Regions from separate parts of the Homo sapiens genome. Here region 1 is linked to region 2. Evidence: promoter capture Hi-C in 16 types of primary human blood cells and fetal thymus (Javierre and others, 2016). All regions are on one chromosome and are shown on one strand. The core of a region is centred on a gene start or on the middle of the fragment in contact, and the rest is flanking DNA. Distances in the headings are between cores, read along the strand shown.

What was found. The method cuts DNA at HindIII sites, captures the fragments that hold promoters and counts their contacts. A CHiCAGO score of 5 or more calls a contact.
Region 1: a contact is called between a fragment that was not itself captured here and the fragment with the promoter of RTL5 in region 2, in 1 of 17 cell types (total B cells). The highest score is 5.0, in total B cells.

The regions. Positions count from the first base shown.
Region 1 is chrX:74,127,420-74,132,498 of GRCh38, forward strand. All of the region lies in intron 5 of FTX (FTX transcript, XIST regulator), which reads right to left. It also overlaps the pseudogene DDX3P1. Among named protein-coding and RNA genes, the nearest start is that of MIR421, 89 kb to the right of the region's middle. The HindIII fragment of the contact is 973 bases long and covers 3,299-4,271 here.
Region 2 is chrX:72,130,658-72,133,916 of GRCh38, forward strand. It overlaps RTL5 (retrotransposon Gag like 5), which reads right to left and starts at 1,258. Exons shown (of 1, transcript NM_001405151.1): 1 at 1-1,258. The coding sequence starts at 883. NHSL2 (NHS like 2) reads left to right here. Exons shown (of 8, transcript NM_001013627.3): 2 at 1,422-1,577. RefSeq lists silencers at 1,049-1,118, 1,279-1,338. The HindIII fragment of the contact is 11,603 bases long and covers 1-3,259 here.

The sequences.
Region 1 (5,079 bases), core at 2,535-5,034, 2.0 Mb after region 2:
TGTCCAGCTTCTGGACTGGTAGGATAGGGGAGTTGTAAGGAGAATTTATAGGCTCTAAAAAGCCATGCTGTAACAGGTGAGTGATAACAGGCTTTAGTCCTCTTAAAGCCTGTTGTGGGATGGGGTACTGGCATTGAGCGGGGTAAGAGTGACTAGGTTTTAATGGGATGGTAAGGGGTACCTGATCAGTCACCAAGGAGGGAGTAGAGGTATCCCATACTTGTGGATTAAGGTAGGGAGACATGAGAGGAGGATTCAAAGGAGGCCTTGAATCAGGTAAAAGGGCAGCAATGAGGTGTGACTGTAGTCCAGGAATAGTCAGGGAAGCAAGGGAAGCAGATAATTTAGTTAAAATGTCTCGGCCTAATAAGGGAACTGGGCAGGTGGGGATAACTAAAAAAGAGTGCATAAAAGAATGTTATCCAAGTTGGCACCAGAGTTGGGGACTTTTAAGGGGTCTAGAAGCCTGGCCGTCAATACCCACAACAGTTACGGGGGCAAGGGAAACAGGCCCTTGAAAAGAAGGTAATGTGGAGGGGGTAGCTCCCGTATCGATTAAACAGGTTATGGACTTACCATCCACTGTAAGAGTTACCCAAAGCTCGGCATCCGTGATGGTCCAGGGGGCTTCTGAGGCGATCAGGCAGCATCGACATTCAGCTGCTAAGCCGAGGAGATCTGGGAAGGAGTCGGCCAAGGAATGTTGGGTTTGAGCTCCAGGAGCTTTAGGAGTGGCAGCGATGTGAGTCAGACAGTCTGACTTCCAGTGGGGGCCTGCACAGACAGGGCCCGACTTAGGAGGAATCCTGGGCTGCTGGCACTCCGAGGCCCAGTGGCCAGGCTTTTGGCATTTGAAGCAAGGTCCACAGGGAGGTTTTGAAGGAGCCCCTGGGAGCTGTGGCTTGGATGTTCCGAAGGTTTTGTATGCTGGAGACGTGGTTGTGGGTTGTCTTACAGTGGAGGCAAGTAGCTATAACTGAGAGATACGTTGCCACTTGGCGGCTTCTTCTCTGTTATTGAACACCTTGAAGGTGAGGTTGATTAAATCCTATTGTGGGGTTTGAGGGCCGGAATCCAACTTTTGGAGTTTTTTTCTAATGTCAGGAGTGGATTGGGTCATAAAATGCATGTTAAGGATAAGGCGGCCTTCTGGCCCCTCTGGGTCTAAGGCTGTAAAGCATCTAAGGGTAGCTGCTAAGTGGGCCATGAACTGGGCTGGGTTTTCATCTTCACGTTGGGTAGTTTCCTTTAGCTTGTCATAATTAACAGCTTTGTATGCTGCCTTTTTGAGCCCCTAGACTAGGCAGGAGACCATGTAATCTCACCTAGCTATACCTGGGGAGTCTGTGTGGTATTGCCAATGGGGATCCTCTCGGGGAACTGCCCTAGTGCCCTCTTGGAGGCCTGGCTTATGAAGCCGGCAGGTGTCTGCATAGGACTGGGCTAGAGAATAAACTCTTTCTCATTTATCTGGGGAGAGGGTAGAGGTCAGGATGACATTTAAGTCACTCCAGGTTAAAGTGAAGGACTGAGTTAGATATTGGAATTCCTGTATATATTTATTGGGGTCTGATGAGAAAGAGCCAAAATGCTGACTGATTTGGGAAAGGTCTGATAGAGAAAAAGGCACATGTACCCTGACTATGCCTTCAGCTCCAGCCACCTCTCTAAGAGGAAATTGTTGGGCAGGTGGGGGAGACCTAGTCACGGAACGAAACTGTAAGCCAGACCAGGTGTGAGGAGGGAAGGTAATAGAAGGGTTATAGGGTGGGGAAGCGGAGGCTATGGAAGAATTGGGACCTGATTCAGCCTGGCAAGGAGCAGCCGGGGGAGAAGAGAGGTAAGAGGGGTCAGTGGAAAAGGAGGATTCAGAGGACTCTGAGTTTGGGGTGGAGACAAGAGGAGTGGATGGGAGAGAAAGAAGGAAAATCTGGGACAAGTGGCATTGGGAGCAGAGACTAGGGAGGGAATGAATTGTAAAAAAATGCCTGGACATAAGGCACCTCGGACCATTTGCCCATTTTTCAACAAAAATTATCTAGGTCTTGTAGGATAGACAAATCAAAAGTGCCATTCTCTAGCCACTTGGAACTATTGTCGAGTTTGTACTGGGGCCAAGCAGTATTACAGAAGAAAATAAGATGTTTAGGTTTTAGGTCAGGTGTTAGTCGAAGGGGTTTTAGGTTTTTAAGAACACAGGCTAAGGGGGAAGAGGGAGGAATGGATGGCAGAATGTTGCCCATAGTGGAGAAGGTAAGTTTAAAGAGGAAGGTAGAGACACGGAGAAATGGAGGTGGCAACTACAGGCTTCCCGTAGGCATCCCTGACTGAGTCCTGGGCTGTAATGTGGGTGAGCAGCCAAAGCAGGCATCCCCATAATTGACCTGCCACCAAGAGAATGTGGGTGAATGATCAAGACAGGTGTCCCCACGGTGATCAGACACCAAGGGAAGACTGTCTTCCCAAGTCCGTGACCAACATCGGAGTTTTTGAATGCACAGATAAAGTGTGTCTCCTTTTTGTCTCTACCAGGAAGGGAGAGAAACTGAAATTGAAAGGAGAGAGATTGAAGGGAGGCAATAGAGGTTAGGTAGAGAGCAAAAACACTGCTTACCCGAGTGCAAATAACTGCTTACCGATTTGAAATTGGTGAAATGGTCCTTGGGCTGGCTGGTCTGATGACCTGAGGTCGTAGGTGGATCTCCTCACAGAGGTAGCATGAGGACAGGGGACCAGTCTCCTGAAGGAGTTCCCCTGTCCCGGGTCTTCAGCACCAAATACTATGTGTGTCCGTATAAGAGACCACCTGAGCAGGCTTAGTGTAAGCAACAAGGCTGTTTATTCACTTGGGTGCAAGTGGGCTGAATCCAAGAAAGGAGTCAGCAAAGGGTGGTGGGATTATCATTTATTCTTATAGGTTTGGGATAGGCAGTGGAGTCAGAAGCAATTTTTTGCAGGCAGGGGATGGATGTTACAAATACATTAACAAGGGCGGGGAGGGTGTATTGTCACAAGGGCGGGGAATGTTACAAACTACCTTCACAAGGATGGGGAATATCACAAAGTACATTATCACAAGGGCGGGGGAATGTCACGATGGCTTGACCATGGTGCGGCCAGCTCAGAGGACCTTACAGAGCTTACTTACTATACTCATCCTACTCCACTGCAAAACATGCCATTCCTATTATTAGGGGAAAAAAAGAGACTTAATGTCTTGTGCCCAAGCAGGGTCTGGGAAAACTGCAGCATTTCTTTTACCCGTACTGAGTCAGATATATATAGATGGTCCAGGAAAAGCTTTGAAGGCTGTGAAGGAAAATGGAAGGTATGGATGCCATGAACAATACTCAATCTCCTGGGTTTTAGCCCCAACAAGAGAATTGGCTGTACAGATATGAGGAAGTCAGAAAATTTTCATACCAGCCTAGAGTTCATCCTTGTGTAGTTTATGGTGATGCTGATATTGGTCAGCAAATTCAGGTCTTAGAACATGGATGCCACTTGTTAGTAGCCACGCCAGGAGGTCTAGTGGATTTGATGGAAAGAGGAAAGATTGGATTAGACTTCTGCAAATACTTAGTGTTGGATGAAGCTGATAGGATGCTGGATATGGGATTTGGACCTCAGATACATCTTATACTTGAACAAGATACTATGCCACTGAAGGGCATTCATCACATCATGATGTTTAGTGCTACTTTTCCTAACGAAATACAGATGCTTGCTCGTGACTTTTTGGATGAATATATCTTTTTGGCTGTAGGAAGAGTAGGCTCTACCTCTGAGACTATCACACAGGAAGTAGTTTGGGTGGAAGAGCCAGATAAACGGTCATTTCTGCTTGATCTCTTAAATGCACCAGGGAAGGATTCACTGACTTTAGTGTTTGTGGAGACCAAAAAGGGAGAAGATTCTCTGGAGAATTTCTTATACCATGAAGTATATCCTTGTACTAGTATTCATGGAGACCAATCACAGAGAGATCGAGAAGGAGGCCCTTCATCAGTTTTGCTTGGGGAAAATCCCAATTCTAGTGGCTACAGCTGTGGCAGCATGAAGACTAGACATTTCAAATGTGAAACATGCTTCAATTTTGATTTGCCAAGTGATATTGAAGAATATGTGCCTTGTATTGGCTGTACAGGATGTGTGGGAATCCAGGGTCTTGCCACCTCATTCTTTAATTAAAGAAATATGAATATTACAAAGGATTTGTTGGATATTCTTATAGAAGCTAAACAAGAAGTGCCTGCTTGGTTGGAAAATAAAGCTTATAAACACCACTACAAGGGTGGTATTCATGCATGATCTAAAAGATTCAGTGGAGGATTTGGTGCCAGAGACTATTGACAAAGTAGTGGTTCCAGCAGTTCTGGCTTCAGTAGTAGTCATACAAGCAGCAGCTGCAGTGGTGGAGGTGGTCATGGCAGCAGCAGCAGATGTGGTGGAGGTAGCTATGGAGGCTTCTACAACAGTGATGGATGTGGAGGAAATTATAATTCTTGTTATAAGAGTTATTAAGAGCTGGGCGCGGTGGCTCACACCTGTAATCCCAGCACTTTGGGAGGCTGAGGCAGGCGGATCACGAGGTCAGGAGTTCGAGACCAGTCTGGCCAACATAGTGAAACCCCATCTCTACTAAAAATACACAAAAAATTAGCCAGGCGTGGTGTTGTGCACCTGTAATCCCAGCTATTTGGGAGGCTGAGGCAGGAGAATCACGTGAACCCAGGAGGCGGAGGTTGCAGTGAGCCGAGATCGTGCCACTGCACTCCAGCCTGGGTGACAGAACAAGACTCTGTCTCAAAAAAAAAAAAAAAAAAAAAAAAAGAAAGAGTTATTAAGAAATTATTTTAAGCAGATAAGAAAAGGGGTCCTTGGGAAGTTCTTTTTTTTCTTTTAGAGCAACTCCAGAAACATTTCTTGTCTAGCAGGAAAGCTAGGCCAGCAAGCTTTGATATGCAAATACCGGCCATTAGAAACTGGGCCCACCCAAACATGGCAATTCCTGCAGTCTTATTCTTGCCCTGGCCTCCACATGTGCCTGGCAACACGGCCACCCCCACATATCCACAC
Region 2 (3,259 bases), core at 8-2,507:
CCATTTCTGTTGACCATAAGAGCTCTTTGCGGAAGAATTCCGACAGGCCTTTGAGGAATTGGTTTTGGAGGCGGCAGTCATCCCAAGACAAGAATTGGGCCAGGAACTGAAAAGCATCTGCATAGCTGCCGAGGGTACAGTGGCCCTGCTTGAGCTTGCGAATGGCCTTTTTAGCCACACGTGGGGGGATGGGGCCACAGAATTCCTTACGGATTTCATCCAGGAAGCGCGGGAAGTTGGCATGCAAGGGGCTTCCTTCCTGGGTGACCGAGATGGCCCAGTCCTTGGCTTCGCCAGTGAAAAAGGAGATCAGAAAGGCCACCCGCTCGGCGCCCCCGGGGAAATGAACCTCATGGTCGGCTATGAAGGTCTCTAGCTGCATCAGGAATTCAGCCAGGTAGACTGGGTCTCCTGAAAAGGGCTCTATCTCAGGCCGCTCCAGCGGTGCCAGAGGGGGTTGCGGGGGCGGTTCCTTTGACGCGGGCGGAGGCAGCGCCGGCGGGGGCGGGATGGGCAGCAGAGGGGGGTCAGCGGGCCCGTCGGGGGTGCTGCGATCCTGGATCACGTTAATCAAAAGATCATCCGAGATACAGTCGGGCTCCGCGCGTGGGGGAGGCCGGCACAAGAAGGGCAGTTCTCCCCCGGGAATGACTTCGATCTCACTGAGCGCGAACTCCAAGTTCTCCTCCGCAAGGACGGGCACTATGGGTACTGGCCAGCGGATGTAGCTGGAGACATTGCCCCGCAAGGAATTAACCTCGGCCAGGGCTCTCCCGAGCTGGAGGCCCAAATTGGCATTCTCCCCGCGAAGGGCATTTAATTCTTCGCGCAGGGCCACATTCGCCATGCGGAGGCTGTTGAGATTTCCTGACGCCTCAGACATCTCGACAAGCCCAGGGGCCCTGGGGCTCCGTGGTGGGGAAAGGGGAACTGGAACTACGGGCGGCCGGAGGAGGCCGAAATGCGGCGGCGGGGCTCGGGAGGGACCGAAGTGCGGCAGCGGGGCACGGGCCAGGCCGGGCCACACCCACCGGGGCGAGCTCGGAGGGCGGCGCTCTGGGCGGAGGGCCCGGCGGCTCGGCCCAGGGCGCGTTACCTCGTCGCCGGGGCCGGAGAGGGCGGGCGGAGGCACGGGGCCCGGAGGCGCCAGGCGGAGGATGCGGGCGACACGGTGGCGGCGGCGACCGCGCGACCGGGCGGGCGGGCGGGCAGGGGCGAGCGGAGCGGGAGGGAGCGGACTGCGGCAGGATCTGTCGAGGAAAAATCTTGCGGCCGGCGATTCCCCGCCTTTTAAGCGCAGCCTCGCACTCCCCCCACCCCACGCAGGGGCGGGCCTTGGGGAACCGCGGGCGCCCACTGGCCGCCGCGCGCCGCTCCCCTCCAGCTCGCCTGCGCCTCTCACTGACTCTCTCCTTCCCTAGCTGCAGCTAACTCGGGTCGGGAAAATGCGACAGCGACTGCCCACTCGAGGTCGTCATGGCGACAGCCAGTGAACGTGTTCCTCTCCTCGGGCAGGCCCCCGAGTGTAGAGGAGCTGCTTCGGGAGGCGCAGCTCAATCTCCAGAGCCTGTTGCAAGGTACCGAGAGGGAGGGGGGCTGCGGCCGGAGCCCAGAAGCGAGATGCGCAGCGGCAGGAGGGAGGCAAAGAAGAAAGAGGACAGGGACCAGCAAGATAAAGACAGAGAGTTTAAAAACAATCGACAAAGCAGTTTCCAGCTTTCACCTTTCAGCCTAATGATTCTGAAAGAGGCTATTTCCAGGGCTGTTTCCCCCCATCCCCAGCCCCTTTTTTCAGCTCAGTAGCCCATGGGGAAACAAGGACAGAGACTGAGGCAGGGCCATAAGTTATGCCATTCACCGAGAGCTGGGTGGGAGACTCCCACAATGTGGGCCTACATTCCCTCCAGCCCCCCTCTTGCCACATCGCCCATGCCTTTGGGATCCTGGCACCAGAAGACAAAGGGGGCATCTGCAGGATCTCCCACTCTGGGCTTCACTCACTCTGCTCTTGCAATAACCCCTGGATAGCTACTGCCTCACCAAAGTAAGCCCAATACACAGCACCCAGAGGTCACCTATTTTGTCCCCCCTAACCAAGCCTGAGCTTCTCGATGTAAAGAATCACATCTTGCTACCCTTAGGTTTCCAGAAGCACCTGGCACAAGGCTGGATTCCCTCCCCACCTGCCAAGAGGTGCTCAGTGGATGTTGAGCATGAAAAGAGGTCTTGTCAGCACTCCTTTATCTATACTAATAAAGGTTAACTCTAATGGCGAATAGAAAACTGCTGATGGGCCACCAACAGGATGACAGCCATAACCCCCACCCCCTACCAGGGCAGTGGTGACCTTGGAAAAGCAAGATGCCAAGGGACACCATGAGCCTTGTGTTCAGATAACAAAGGACTTGCCACACAGAAAAAGAGTCGATGTGCTCTGTGTTGCTACCATGGCAGAATTAGGACCAGTGGGTGGAAACCCAGAAGGAGGCACATTCCACCTCCAGATAAGGAAGAACTTTCTGACACACCTGACAGCCCCAACTGTCCGTGGAAGAAATGAGCTGCCTTGGGAGGGAGGGAGCTCCCCTTCCCTGCAGGTGTGTGCGCTGAGGCTGAAGAAACACCTAGAAGGGCTGCTGAGGAGGGAGTCTGGGCACAGAATGAGGCGTTGGACCAAAGAACCCCAAGAGCAACCCCAAATCTCTGTGATTCTGAGTCTTTGTTCAGTGTACATACAGCATGAATGTCCCTTCTCTACTCTCACTTTCTTCATGTATTCTCATCAAATTCATCACTTCAATCAACCCTATTCAAATCTTGTGCATCCTTACTCACTGATGATGCCGCTGAACTTCTGCCTCTTTTATGCTGTTACCTCCTCCTTCCCTCTCCTTCACCTTAGCCCTCCTAGACCTGACATCACTTACAGCGGGACTAAGGTGCAGGGAACACGGCCCACAAAGGCTCAAGTAAAAGTTCTTGACATCCAAGAAAGAACTCCAGATTGGACTTCCTGGTGTAAATCTCTTCTTGCTTCACACAGGTCATTTCCTTGGTAGGGTCGCAGAAAACCTTAAGAGCTGCAGGGCTTCAAAGAGAGGAACTTGCAGTCCAAAGTAGCAAAAGGTGTCTGCATTCTGAGCCTCTTTTCGTAACTGAGCACTCAAGGTGGGGATCATTGAGATAAGGGCTTGGTCCCCAAACCACCACAGCATGAATTTATTGACTTTCTCTTCTCCTCGATCCTCATGGTCCTGGG